Regions from separate parts of the Homo sapiens genome. Here all the other regions are linked to region 2. The links are contacts of gene promoters, found by promoter capture Hi-C in blood cells and fetal thymus (Javierre and others, 2016). All regions are on one chromosome and are shown on one strand. The core of a region is centred on a gene start or on the middle of the fragment in contact, and the rest is flanking DNA. Distances in the headings are between cores, read along the strand shown. Region 1 overlaps UBN1 (ubinuclein 1). Region 2 holds the start of NUDT16L1 (nudix hydrolase 16 like 1). Region 3 holds the start of GLYR1 (glyoxylate reductase 1 homolog). Region 4 overlaps GLYR1 (glyoxylate reductase 1 homolog).

Region 1 (3,320 bases), core at 820-3,319, 170 kb before region 2:
AAATTGCAGACACTGCTAACCCCTCACCATCATCTCCCCCACTCACCTTCCTCTCACTGCATCCTCTGGGGCCCCTTCCAACCACTCTAACTGCTCCATCTGCCTCCTCCACCAGCTCCTTTCCATAGGCGGACCCCAGGATTCTCACTAGAACCCACTTCTCCCAATAACTTCTTTCCCCCTCAGGGCTTCAAAATAACACAGACAATTGTACACTCAAATCTAAACTAAGCCCTAAATCCTCTCATCTAAGCTCTGGACCAGAATTTCCAGTTATCTCTGAGAAATTTCCCAATTACAGTCAACGCCTGGTATAGGCAGGGGATTGGTTACAGGACCCCCGTATATACCAAAATCCAACTGCACAGTCAGCCCTGAGGAACCTGCCTATACAAAAAGTTAGCCCTCTATACACAGATTTAGCATCCCTCAAATCAACCCACATTTGGTTAGAAAACATCTGCGTGTAAGTGGATCCACGCAGTTAAACCCTGTGTTGTTCAAGGGTCAACTGCACTTCTGTGGATGGATGACCCTCTGGTTTGCAAACTCAACTTACACCAGACCCACTGGCTTCTGCTCTTCCCCTGTGTTCCCCACTTCTAATAATTGCACTCCAACCTTAAGACCGCCACTCCCTTCTTCAGAACCCTTCAGCAGCTCTTTCCAAGCCTGGTATCAAACCCAAACTCCTTCACATGGCATTTGGGGTCCTCCACGATCTGGCCCAGCCATCCACCAACTCGCCCATCTTCAGCTCTGCTCCCTGCCTTCTCTTAGGGCATCTTCCCCAGGAGGCCGGCGAAGCCTGTTGCCTCCAGTCTGCTTCCTATATGCCCCCCAAGAGCCTCTCTTTAACCCCTTAAGTCCGGCTATCTGGCCGTCCACACATCACAAAGCTTACTTCATTCTGCTCTGTACTACAGTCCATTGTCTGCGTATCTATCGGGTCCATTTATGTAACGAGCTCATGAAAGACAAGAATGGAACCTTGGCCCGGCGCGGTGGCTCACACCTGTAATCCTAACACATTGGGAGGCCAAGGTGGGCGGAACACGCGAGCTCAGGAGTTTCAGACCAGCTTGGGCACATGATGAGACCCTGTCTCTACTAAAAATACAAAAAAAAGCTGGGCATGGTGGTGCATGCCTGTGGTCCCAACTACTCTGGAGGCTGAGGTGGCAGGATCACTTGAGCCCTGGGCGTGGAGGTTGCAGTAAGGCAAGATCGTGCCACTGCACTCCAGCCTGGGTGACAGAGCAAGACCCTGTCTTAAAAAATAATAATAAAATAAAATATAGAACTGAGTCTTATTCATCAGTATATTTCCCATGGCTGCCTGTCACATAATATTTACTAAATGTTGACTGAGTGAATGAATCAACAAATGAAGATACTACTGTAAAACGGCACGCCACAGGAAGAAAAGCTTAACACCAAACAACCAAAACTAAGTCAGAAGAAAATGCGCAAAACTCAAGCTTCTACAGATCCCTTGGCTAGGTGAAAGCCCAGAGGGGTGAAATCCACAGACGAATAATGGAAAAAAAGGGCATGACTTTTCACCCAGCCATGTGCCAATTTCTTACACTCTTGGAAACATTCAGAATTCTACCTTAGCACTTGGAAGGTACTAGAATTATATTAGTCTGGGAAAAAATAAAACTGAACTTTTTTTGCTTAAGCTTACACTGCTAGTTTTAAGATCGAGAAGCACCCTTACATTAATTCAAACTAATTAACATGTATTTCACATGCCACACTTTCAGACCCATCTACAGCTTAAACTTCCAATCAAATTTTATCTTATTATTTTTTATTTTTTTATTTTAGTTTAGTTTTTGAGACGGAGTCTTGTTCTGTTGCCCAGGCTGGAGTGCAATGGCGTGATCTCAGCTCACTGCAACCTCCACCTCCCGGGTTCAAGTGATTCTCCTGCCTCAGCCTCCTGAGTAGCTGGGATTACAGGCACCCACCCCCATGTTCGGCTAATTTTTTGTATTTTTAGTAGAGATGGGGTTTCACCATGTTGGCCAGGCTGGTCTCAAACATCTGACCCCAAGTGATCCGCCCGCCTCAGCCACCCAAAATGCTGGGATTACAGGCTGAGCCACCATGCCCAGCATCTTATTTTATTGAGATGGTCTCACTCTGTCACCCATTCTGGAGTGCAGTGACGTGATCGCAGCTCATACAGCCTTGACCTCCCAGGCTCAAATAATCCTCCCGCCTCAGCTTCCCAAGCAGCTGGGACTACAGCTGCACGCAACCACGCCTGACTAATTTTTAGATTTTTTTTTCTCACTCTGTTACCCAGGCTGGTCTGGAACTCCTGGGCTCAGGTGATCCTCCCACCTCGGCCTCCCAAAGTACTGCGATTACAGGCATGAGCCACCGCGCCCTGCCAAATTTTCTGTTTAGATAGCCACTTGTACAATATTTCAGAAGCTTTCTATGTAATCTTTACGCAATCTTTAAAAATATTTTAAATAATATTATGTAATTTTAGAAAGTACTTTTCTGTAAACCTTTTGAATTGCATAGACAATATCTCTGAGGGTCTGGCTTTATACTGAAGAGTCGACTGCGGCATTTTAAAGTAAATCTAATTAAAAGAGCAATTGGATATATATCTGATAGTCTTCCAAAAATAAATGGGGTCCCTCACCCCTAAAAAGAGACACTCTTACCCCAGAAGTTGTGTGAATTAATCAATCCTAAGTTAACTAGTAAATGAGGTTAAACATCCCAATCATGCTGATTTATAAGAGTTCCAACAGCCTTTTAATGAGCTGTTTTATTTATTCTAAGAAAAGTCACCTGTAGCCTTTTAGCACCCAGCTCAAAATCTTATATACTGTATCTGTTTTTGCTGAGTAGGAGAAAATCGGGCATGATTTTTTTTAAAAAGATCAAACAAGTTGTTTTCGTTTTTTTTCCCCCTACGTTATTCTCTTTGGATCCATCTCTCCCTGCACTTCTTGTGATGAGGGGTTCTAATTCTATAGAGGGCAGAGCAGAATGGGTGACATGGGGTCTCTTTGATTCCTGCTCTTAGTATTGTCTCTATGTTATGCTTGACTAAAGAGAACCAAAATAGATCTGGGTTATTTGTCCAGCCCAAGGCTGAGTAGCTGTCAAACTACCTCAAGACAATAACCCAAAGGAGCATCAAACCTGAGCTTTGTCAGCACCTGTACCTGCCAACAACCAAGACAAAAGACACCATCAATGCATATTAACAGAGGGCAGGGTAAGGCCATCAAATCACTGGATTCCCTGGGGCCTATACAAATGTACAATACAAATCAGTAACAAAA
Region 2 (3,645 bases), core at 215-2,714:
AGGAAGTTGGGGAAGCCTCCGACTCGGTCCTTCTGGGTGTACAGCGGGACCCGCACGAGGCCCAGCACCTGCGCAGACAGGAGGTAGGGGTTGGGGCCAGGCCTGCCACACAATGGCACCTCCAGCAGGAGGGGCCTGGAAGCTATGAGGCCAGGGTATGAGCAGCCAGCTTTGCCAAGGACTTAATGGGAGACCCACGCAGGGCCTGGCAGAAGCCAGCCAGCTCCCTCGGAGCAGTGCAGCCCCCTCCTCCCCAAGCAAGTGTGGAGGCTGACCCCATGCACTCCCCCCCCTCGTACCCAGGCCACCCCACCCCGGGGTCCGCACCCCATGCTCCCCCCGTCCACCCAACGAAGCCTGAACACCCGCAGTCCAGCCCTTCCAGACCACAAAGTACAAATCCCAAGAGCCTTCACGCCCAACATGAGGTTCCCAAGTTTTACAACCCCCGCTGTGCTCAAGTTTCCCAACTCCCCAAGCAATCCCCGCTCCTCCCCCATCCCTTCCTCCCCACCGATCCCACTCCCCCACTCCCAGGATTGGCAATGGCAGGCAGCAAGGCGGATGTAACACAGCCCTGAGGGAGCCCCAGCGCCGGCCCCCACCCCCGCCCCTCCTTTCCCGGCCTCCCAGCCCCAGACCCCTCTCCCCACCCCATTGCTGGAGACAGCGACACCCGACCCAGCCCGGCCAGGGGACCCTCAGGAGACGTGTTACCCATCGGTGCCTTCCACGGGGCCAGAGCCAAACCCCGGGGCGGGGGGCGGGGCCCGGGCGGCGGCCCCACCTCCAGGCCGTGGTCGCGCGAGTGCACCGCGCTGATCTCCACGGCGTGCAGCTGCTCCAGCGTCAGCTGCCGCGCGTACAGGTGCGCCACGACGCGGTGTGGGCCCTCGGTCAGGTGCGAGCTCAGGTAGTCGGCCTCGGTGAGGCGCAGGCAGCCCAGGCCCAGGCCCAGCACCCGGTTCAGGCCGTCCTCCAGCGACCAGAAGCGCCGGTCCACGAAGCCCCCGGGGAAGCCCAGCAGCCCGTCGAAACGCATCTGCATCTGCAAGGGAGCGCGGGTCACAGCCGCGGGGTCGACGGACGCCCCCGCCCGGGCCCGCCCGCGCCGGCACCCTCGCCCGCGCCCTCGCCCGTCCTCACCAGCACCGAGAAGCGCATGGGGATGCGGCCGAAGAGCTGCCCAGGGTTGGCGGCGTACAGCATGGCGTGGCACGAGTGGCTCCAGCCCGGCCCTAGGCGCATCGCCTCCACCCGGCTGATCTGCTTCAGCTCCGGAACCGCCGCCGTCGACATCTTGGCACTGACCCCGTCCCCGCCGCTGCCACTTAAGAGCATGCGCGAGCCCGCCCCCGCCGTGCCTCGCCAATCCGCGGGCGGCCGCGCCCCCGGGTCCGGTTCCCCCGCCAATCGCCGGCGCGCCCCGGGACCGAGCCCCTCGCAGCGCCGCGGTGCGTCGTCGAGAGGTGCTGCGGGCGGTGTGCAAAGGAGGGCGGTGCGCGTCAGCCGTCACCCAATAGTCGCACACCCTGGGCGGCGGCCCCGCCTCCGACGGGAGAGCCTAGACGACTGGTCGGTGCCGTGGTGGCTCAAGGTTGACATTGTGGGCGACGAACATCTTCCTTGGCGCCCCAAAGCGGACAGCCGAAATTCCCTGCGGTTTCTCCACCCTCGATGGCGCCGATCCCCTTGCGCCCACCCGTTTCTCCCCAGGAGGCCGACCCGGCCCGCATGGCCCCGTCCATCCGCAATGGCACCCTTGGCACGACCACACGAGCCAGAGATGCCCCGGAGCCTTGCTCCGCCAGCGCCACCGGACCCAAGCCCGGAGGGAGATGGCCTTCGCCTGCCATGCACGACAGCTGTCCCGACCTAGCCACCCTGCTGGCAGGCTCGATCCAGGACAGCACGGGGAGCAGGGCTTGGCAGGGCTTGAGTGCCCCAGTCCCCGAGTCCACGCTGGGTCAGGGCGGACGACCGGGAGCTCTGGGGCTCTGTGGACCCAGCTTGCTGGGCAGAAAGTGACTTAAATTCCGGGGCTGGACCTTTCCAGCATCCTCCAAGCCGGGCACCCTGTGCCAGGTACTGTGGGGGGAAGAGGGGTTTCCCCAATTTACGATGAGGAACTTGGAGCTCAGAGAGGGACATAACTTGCCTAAGTACAACTGGCAGTTGATGACAGAGGCAGAATCCCGATTCCACAAGGGCCTGAGGTACTTACCACTTACCTTGTGTTTGTACTGGAGATGTCTCTGGGGCTCAGAAGCATCCGAAACAGCCCAAGGCAGAGCGAGGTGCCCTGAACTCCATGATGGCAAGGCTCACCTCACCAGCAGCAGGGCCCAGGGCCACTTTCCTCCCCACCAGGGGAATGGATTTGCTGAGCACATGAACCCCCCTGCCTGCACTCACAGCATGGGTGCCCAGGGCTGGGGCACAGCCTCGGGAGAGCCGTGCAGTGAGGCCGAGCTCGCTGGCACAGAGAAGGCTGCCTTCAGTGGAGGCAGGCAGGAGAAGAGAGAGGGAGAGGGTGGGCATTGGAAACTCACCTGTTAGGTCCGTGGTGGCCTCAGATGTGGAGAATAAGGACCCAGAGAGGGCACCTCTCTCTCCTCCTGTGGCCACCAGTGGGTCAGGGGTCACATGGGACAGCTGCAAGCAGCAGGGGAAGTCCAGATTCCAGAGTGAGCGACCATGTGAGAAGGCGAGAGGGCAGCGAGGGGAAGGGTCCTCTCACCCAAAGAGGGCCCCACCCCTAGGCAGCCAAGCCCAGCCAGCGCCCAGGGCCCGTGGGACGCAGGGGCAGAGGAGGAGAGGCTCCCCTTGCTGCAGCCCCTCCCCGAGACCAGACATCAATACAAGCGCTGGCTCTTCTGGGAGGTACAGAGGGGGAGCCCATCTGGCCCATGCAAGCACCCGTCTGACACCCTGGGCACCCCTCTACCCACACTGGGATGGGGCCAGACCCAGGCAGGTCAGAGCAGCTGCAGGGCCCATGGGTGGCAGCCTTCTCGGGGCAGGGACTGATGGGCTAGAACACGGGCTTTCCCTCCACCCTCACAGTCTTCAAAGAAGGGCCATGGTGGCAGCTTGACCTGCACGCAAAGGAGCTGGGGCCCTGAGTGGTAGGCAGTGGTGTGGTGGGTGCCCTGGGGCACTGGCCACTCCCTGGGCAGGGGAGCGGGGGCTGTGCAGAGGCCTGGGGCCGGGCTCCAGCCTGCGAGCCCACAACCATGGGCAGCTAGACCTGCTCCCACCGTCCGGCCTCCACACGCCAGCCGCAGGGTGCTAGCACTGCTTCTCCGCTTGGAAGCCTGTTTTTAAAACTGACTCCCCCTTATAAAAACACTCCAGCAGCCCCTACAAGCTCTTCAGTATCTATCCAGCACCCTTCACTCCAGCCAGGGGCTCCGTCCCCAGGGGACACATCAGGCTCACTCCTGCCACCTGGAACACTCTTCCAGGGCCAGCTCCTCCTCAGCCCTCAGGGCTGTTTAAGTCTCCTCAGAGAGGCCCTCCCTGCCACCCGGTTAAATGAGACCTTGTACGGGTTCATCTCACCACCATGCTGACTTTCTTCCTAATAGTAACCAAACCTGGCAGGATTCTGATTAGCTGCTGGGCATCTCACTGCCTGGAAGG
Region 3 (3,588 bases), core at 772-3,271, 150 kb before region 2:
ATTCTGTCTTCCCTTTTCCAAAAATTGCATTTCTTATTTTTGTTTCCTGTCTTACTGCACTGGCTAGAACTTTCAGGTTTTAGGCAATATATTCTTATTATCTAATAGTGGTAGAAATGTACCATGTTTCTGATGTTAAGGGGAATGCCTCTAGGTTTTGGTGCAATGTTCATTTGAGATTTTTTTTTCTTTTTTCTTTTTGGCGGGGGGACGAGTCTCGCTCGCTCTGTCGCCTAGCTGGAGTGCAGTGACATAATCTCGGCTCACGGCAACCTCCGCTTCCCGGGTTAAGCGATTCTCCTGCCTCAGCCTCCCAAGTAGCTGGGACTACAGGCATGCGCCACCACGCCCGGCTAATTTTGTATTTTTAGTAGAGTACTGGGTTTGACCGTGTTGGCCAGGCTGGTCTCGAACTCCTGATCTCAGGTGGTCCACCCGCCTCGGCATCCCAAAATGCTGGGATTACAGGCTTATACCACCCTGCCCGGCCAAGATTCATGTTTTTATTTAAGTTATTAAAATCTCATTCAATTCCTCACAAATTCAGAATTTTTAAACAGGAACTTATGTTAAATTTTTATCAAATTATTCCCTGGAATCTTAAATACGCTTTAAAGATCACTTTGTCTTAAAAATACACACGCAGTAAATGACAGTCCGTGCAGCTAATTCTTGGTACTTCAGGGAAACTGATCTCCCAAGAAAAATCAGGCTGCGGGACGACCCAGTACGCTAAACACCGACTTGCAACCGAAATCTCTAACCACCACAATGCCTTGGGGAAATGCGTGTCGACTCGCCACCTTTGCCAGCTGGCAGTGACTCAACAAGAGCCCGACACCAAGTCTAAGTCAATCCTTAACACTGTGGAGTCTGTGATCGGGACTGGGATCTTTTGCAAAATTGTGATTCTACCTGGTCTGCTGAAGTTTGGGCCGACGCTGCGCTCAACTGCAGTTAACACTTCCCAGTTCATGGTTCAGTTTTAAAGTGTCCAAACTACGCCCGGCATCTGTCTTCCTGTTGTCACAACTTTTTCAAAAGTGCAAAACTAGGGCAAGGCTAACGAGAGAGCCCGGACCCGACAACGACACGCACCTTTGTCCCCAGCGCCGACGCGGGCCGCAGACGTCCCCCCGCGGCGGTCCTCATGCCGGTCCCCGGGCGGCGGCGCAGCTAGCGGTCGGCTGCTAAGCCGTGGCTCCCAGCGGGCGGGCGGCCCGCGCCTCGGCCCATGGCCGGGTCCCCGAGCCCAGGGGAGCCTGGTGTGCCGCGCCGCGCGCCGGCCCAGGAGGAAGCGAAGAAATGCCAACTCGACGTCCGCGCAGCCACTCCGGGGACACCAGGGGGTCGGGGGAGCAGCCTCCGGTCGCCCCAGGAGAACTTGCGGCGCGGGACCCCGCGCTCAGACGGCGCCTCCGAAAGCGGCCGTCGGGAGGAGCGCTCCAAAGAACACGGGCGGCGGGAGCGGACGGGCGCGGACACCGGGGCCTCCCGGCCTGCGGCCAAGCAGAGTTGCCGGGCGCGGGAGCCCAGACCCGGCGGAGGCTGAGTTCCAGGCCGCGCCGAGCTCCGTCAGGGTAGCTCACTGGCGCTGCGACGGGGCCGACCAGCGCCTCGGGCTCGGGAATGGCCCCGGGGCCCGCGCCGGACCAACGGGCGTAACGGAAGCGCCGAGAGGGGAGGGGCGCGGAGTCCAAGACCCGGGGGCGGGGCGAGCCGCGAGGCCGGCTCCCTCTCGCGCTCAGCCGGTCGCACCGTCGCCGCCGCCGCCGCCTCAGACCGCGGGCGCTTCGTTGTCACGAGCCGAAGGGAGGGGGAAGGAGCCGGGAGTCTCTGCGCTCCGGCGCGCGGAGACCGCGGCGCTCGCGTCACGTGCCCCTCGGTCGACCAATGATCCCCGGCGGGCGCGGTGACGTCAGAGTAGCGGCGTGGCCAGTGACAGCCGGCCCCCGTCACGTGGTCGGGCCCACTCCAATGGGCGGCGCCGGGGCGACTTGCTGTTCCCGGCGGCCCGTGCGTCGGCGGTGGTTGGGTGGTAAGATGGCGGCTGTGAGTCTGCGGCTCGGCGACTTGGTGTGGTGAGTCCGAGCGGCCGGGCCAACCGAGACGCGCCGGGGAGCTACCCGCCTGGGCGCGGGGTTCGCTGCCGGCCCTGGAGCTGCCTTTTTATGCGCTCCAGGTCGCGGAGAGAGGGGAAGAGAAGGTGCCGGCGCTTGCGAGCGGCGCCAGGCGGAAGGGGCAGTCCAGTCCCGGGGGACCGAGGCCGAGGGTGGCCACGTCGGGCACCGGCTTTGATCCCCGAGGCCGGCCGGGTGGGGTCTGCACTCGGGGCCCAGATACTGGCGGCCCCCGTGAAGGGAGCCGCCGGTGCCGCGAGGCTTCCCCGGACGACCGGTCCCCGGGGTCTTGTTGGGGCTTCCCAGAAAGCAGAAGCGCCGGGGACCGGACCTGCGAGATCTGGCCGGTGCCATTCGGTCAAAGCCCAGGTTGCGATGCAGCCGACCTGTGCGGCCGGCTCAGCCGGGGTTGTCTAAACCGGACTGCTGGCGTTGCCCCGCGAAGAAACGGCGGGGGGACTTCTCCTTTACAACCGATGGCTTGGCAGTGACCAGTGCACGCTTGGGTGCCTCCCGCGGTCTGCTTCTGTGTCCCAGACAACCGCCCGAACCAAGACTTTGTCGCCGCCTCCCTCGAGCTGCGTAGCTTGTTTCTCCACCCAGAGGAAGGCTTCCATTAGCATTTGTCAAAGCCAGGCAGGTCTCCTGTTGAATTAAACCAGACTTAGGGAGGGAAAGTCTGTGTTTACAGAGGAAGCTGTCCTCCCACCCCCGTCATTAAGAAGCTCTAGACAAGTGACTTTTGACAGTTGTGTTGTTCTGTATTCCTTGTCAACAGAAGAATGGATATGCGTTGTGCACATAAGTATACAATTTTGCATTTTACTTCTGAGGGTGTTGGGCCCAGCTATGAAAGCTTTTGTTTCGGCATTTGAGGATGCCAGCAGAGATTTAGGAAAATAAATTGCGTATTGAGTGGGTTGAAGGAGATGGACTGGCTTTTGCAGGGCAAGTGTTGACTCTTTGTGTTTTCTCTAGGGGGAAACTCGGCCGATATCCTCCTTGGCCAGGAAAGGTGAGTGTCTTGCTACTAAAGGAAGAGATCTGAAGTTGGGTTTGAAGAGGTGGAGAATGTAAGATGCATTCCTCTCAGTTTCTAGTATTGAGTTAAATTGGGCTCATTCAGATGGCACTTAGAATTTTTTTTCCCCTAGTATCGGTTATTTTTTAAAAGGCAATGCAGTATACACCAGATCATTAAATCTTCTCTAAACCCTTATTTCTGGATTTAGAGGAGGTTTATGAAGTTTCTTTTTTAACCCCGGAAATAATTCTAGTCTGAATTTAGCTTTATGCTTAAATGTAACAAAAGGAGAAGAAAATATAAATTATCCAGGAAGAAAGTCTAAATGTAGGTTAGTGAAAAGCCAAAGTATTTTTGTCCCAACTAAGTTTAAATCTTCTTTCCATGTTACCATATGTGCTACTCCAGTGCCTCTTTGCAGAAGTTGGCATTCCAGATTTTGCA
Region 4 (3,518 bases), core at 647-3,146, 130 kb before region 2:
AGTAGTGTAGCATACGTTGGAGATACTGCAGGTTCGATTCCAGATCATTGCAGGTCACACAAACGTCTTGGTTTCCCATTGCATGTTAAAGTTAGGTTTATACTGTAGTCTATTAAGTGGTACAATAGCAATATGTCTTTTTAAAATGTACATACCTTTGCCGGGCGCGGTGGCTCACGCCTGTAATCCCAGCGCTTTGGGAGGCCGAGGCGGGCGGATCATGAGGTCAGGAGATGGAGACCATCCTGGCTAACACGGTGAAACCCCGTCTCTACTAAAAATACGAAAAATTAGCCGGGCATGGTGGTGGGCGCCTATAGTCCCAGCTACTCAGGAGGCTGAGGTAGGAGAATGGCGTGAACCCGGGAGGCGGAGCTTGAAGTGAGCCGAGATCACGCCACTGCACCCCAGCCTGGGTGACAGAGCGAGACTCCATCTCAAAAAAATATATATATATACATGCCTTAAGTTAAAAATACTTCATTGCTTAAAAAAAAAAATGCTGACAGAGACACAAAGTGAACACATGCTGTTGGGAAAATGTCCCCCATAGATTTGATTGATACTGGGTTGCCACAAACCTTCAATTCGTTTTTTGGTTTTTTGGTTTTTTGGTTTGTTTTTTTTGAGACGGAGTCTCGTGCTGTCGCCCAGGCTGCGGTGCAGTGGCGCAATCTCGGCTCACTGCAAGCTCCGCCTCCTGGGTTAATGCCATTCTCCTGCCTCAGCCTCTGGAGCAGCTGGGACTACAGGTGCCCGCCACCACGCCCGGCTAATTTTTTGTGTTTTTAGTAGAGACGGGGTTTCATCATGTTAGCCAGGATGGTGTCGATCTCCTGACCTCATGATCCACCTGCCTCGGCCTCCCAAAGTGCTGGGATGACAGGCGTGAGCCACCGTGCCTGGCCCGTTTTTTTTGTTTGTTTGTTTGTTTGTTTTTTTAAGTGCAACACCTACAAAGCACAATAAAACAACGCATAATAAAACGAGGTGTGTCTGTGGTCCAGGAGCTCTAGCTGCTATTGACCCTTCGAGGTGTCCTTCCTGCCTGTTCTTTGTGCTTCACCTGGCCCATAGTGAAAGGACGTATGAGCAGGAGAGGACAGAGCTGGCATGTGGTACAGGACAGATAGCCGTTTCAGTTCAGCACCTTCAGACAGGTAGGGAATCGGTGCCTGGGCTTTGGAATTTTGGTGTGTTTTAAATGCGATACATCCCGTAGTCTCAGAGGAGGGTGTTTGTGTGTGTGTTGCTATAGTAATTGTCATTTGGCTGGCGAGCTCCTCTCAGAAACACTGAGCAGTCACATAGGCTGATAACTGGGCAAAGCCCAGCTGAGTGCCATTCCGGGACATAATCTCCTGCCCCGTGAGGATTAATGGAAAAAGCTGACCTTGATGGCGGAGGCAGGCAGGGAAAGGCTGGGTTTGCGTCTGGACCTGCATGTAAGAGCTGCACCCCAGCAGCGCCCACCTACCCTCTTTCTGGGGATGAACTCTGGGCACAGCCCACCCAGATCAAAGTAGCGCTGTTAGTTCTGTGACTCTCCCAAAATCCCATACTCACACGAGGAGCAGAAGTTTAGGAGTTGGGGCCCTTCCTTAGTGCCAAACTGAGAGTTACAAGCTGCCTCCTCCTTGTTTCCATTGGGTCATTGTGGCCTTAGGTGAGTCCTAGGGCTGCACCACCCAAGACAGCTGTGCTGCCCCAGCCACAATTGGCCATTTAAATTGAAATTAAATGCACATTAAAATGCAGCTTCTCCATCACCCTATTGTGTGAGATGCTCCACAGTGACGCTTGACTGGCGCCTGCTCTATCACACAGTGCAGATGGAGTACACGCCCATCATTGCAGAATATTCTTTTGGGCAGCTCTGGGCTGGGCCTTTTCTTTTCCCCCAAAAACCTCTGCATTCAACAAATGTTTATTGAGTAATTCTCCTATAGGCCAAATGCCTGGAGAGAAAGCAGCATAAAAGTCAGACGAGGCTCCTTCAGTAAGAATTGAACCTGGACTGTATGGCAGCATGGGTTGTAGAGTAGGCCAGACTGGCAGAGTTCTTGCTTTTCTAGGATGTGCTTCTAATATGACAGACCCTGGAGCCAAATTCTGTCAGTCTGCTAGGCACAGTGGCTCACTCCCATAATCCCAGCACTTTGGAAGGCCGAGGTAGGAGGACCACTTGAGGCCAGAAGTTAGAGACCAGTCTGGCCAACATAGCAAGACCCTATAAAAACAAAAAATTAGAAATTACAGAAAACAAATAATTGCAAATAAATAATACATCTACAAAAAATAAAAATAAAAAATTAGCTGGGCGTAGTGGCACACACCTGTAGTCCCAGCTACCCAGGAGGCTGAGGTGGGAAGATCACTTGAGCTCAAGTGGTTGAGGCTGCAGTGAGCCATAATTGAGTCACTGCACTCCAGCCTGGGTGACAGCTAGACTATGCCTCCAAATAAATAAATAAGTTGTGTCTACCACACCAGTGACTGACTCGGTGACCTTAAGCAAGGTTACTTAAGCTCTGTGTGCCTTAGTTTTCTATTCTGTAAAAGAAGATTATAATAGGGCTGGGTGCAGTGGCTCACGCCTGTAATCCCAGCACTTTGGGAGGCCGAGGCGGGCGGATCACGAGGTCAGGAGATCGAGACCATCCTGGCTAACATGGTGAAACCCCGTCTCTACTAAAAATACAAAAAATTAGCTGGGCATGGTGGCCGCGCGCCTGTGGTCCCAGCTACTCAGGAGGCTGAGGCAGGAGAATCGCTGGAACCCAGGAGACAGAGGTTGCAGTGAGCCAAGATTGTGCCACTGCACTGCAGCCTGGGCTACAGAGCAAGACTCCGTCTCAAAAAAAAAAAAAGAAGATGATAATAATTCTGTTTCATGAAGGGGCAAGAATTACATGAGAATGTATGTATAAAATAGGACTTATTGTGATGTCTAGCACATAGTAAGCCCTATGAAGGCATTTGTTCTCATTATAATCCACATCAGCATCATGTTCTATGGGCAAACATAAAAAGAGGTCAGGTGAAGCCACTCTGATAAGGTGACATTTCAGCAGAGTCCCAAAGCGAGCCTGAGCCAAGGAGATAACTGTCAGAAGAACGTTCCAAGTAGCACAAGGGTGCCAGGGCAGGCACATGCTTGGTGTGTTTGGTGCGGGGGGGAAAGCCAGCAGGGTGCTAACGAGCTAGAGAGCAGTGACGGGGGAAGAAATAGGACTTGAGGTTGGAGATTGGCGTGGGATGGGTGGGAGACGGCAGAACTTGCAAGACCCTCCCTGTAGACCATGCTCATGAAGCCCGTAGCTTTACTATGTGAGACTGGAAGGCAGTTTAAGGCAAAGAAGCATCATAATCTGATTGGCCCTTTTGGTAGCTGACTCTGGCTGCTGTGTAGAGACTAGACTGTGAGTGGAAGCAGGGAGATTTATTTTTGCAATTGTCCAGGTGGCCTGAGCTTAGGTATTAGTAGCAGGGATGGTGAGAAGAAGGGGTTGGGCAGA

The links. Contacts are between HindIII fragments. The CHiCAGO score rates a contact against its expected background, and 5 or more counts as called.
Region 1: a contact is called between a fragment that was not itself captured here and the fragment with the promoter of NUDT16L1 in region 2, in 3 of 17 cell types (erythroblasts, M2 macrophages and megakaryocytes). The highest score is 7.1, in erythroblasts.
Region 3: the fragment with the promoter of GLYR1 here is called in contact with the fragment with the promoter of NUDT16L1 in region 2 in 2 of 17 cell types (M2 macrophages and erythroblasts); the score reaches 6.0 in M2 macrophages.
Region 4: a fragment that was not itself captured here is called in contact with the fragment with the promoter of NUDT16L1 in region 2 in 1 of 17 cell types (M1 macrophages); the score reaches 5.1 in M1 macrophages.

The regions. Positions count from the first base shown.
Region 1 is chr16:4,864,485-4,867,804 of GRCh38, reverse strand. The region is part of intron 7 of UBN1 (ubinuclein 1); the gene reads right to left. Among named protein-coding and RNA genes, the nearest start is that of UBN1, 19 kb to the right of the region's middle. The HindIII fragment of the contact is 763 bases long and covers 1,688-2,450 here.
Region 2 is chr16:4,691,381-4,695,025 of GRCh38, reverse strand. It overlaps NUDT16L1 (nudix hydrolase 16 like 1), which reads right to left and starts at 1,464. Exons shown (of 3, transcript NM_032349.4): 1 at 1,147-1,464; 2 at 788-1,048; 3 at 1-68. The coding sequence starts at 1,299. RefSeq lists enhancers at 537-1,044, 1,045-1,552, 1,804-1,893 and silencers at 644-1,143, 1,254-1,613. The HindIII fragment of the contact is 13,448 bases long and covers 1-3,645 here.
Region 3 is chr16:4,845,721-4,849,308 of GRCh38, reverse strand. It overlaps GLYR1 (glyoxylate reductase 1 homolog), which reads left to right and starts at 2,021. Exons shown (of 16, transcript NM_032569.4): 1 at 2,021-2,081; 2 at 3,099-3,135. The coding sequence starts at 2,044. It overlaps UBN1 (ubinuclein 1), which reads right to left and starts at 1,828. Exons shown (of 18, transcript NM_001079514.3): 1 at 1,099-1,828. RefSeq lists silencers at 1,148-1,237, 1,248-1,967 and enhancers at 1,020-1,862, 2,158-2,217, 2,518-2,577. The HindIII fragment of the contact is 6,120 bases long and covers 1-2,978 here.
Region 4 is chr16:4,825,009-4,828,526 of GRCh38, reverse strand. All of the region lies in intron 5 of GLYR1 (glyoxylate reductase 1 homolog), which reads left to right. Among named protein-coding and RNA genes, the nearest start is that of GLYR1, 21 kb to the left of the region's middle. The HindIII fragment of the contact is 9,601 bases long and covers 1-3,518 here.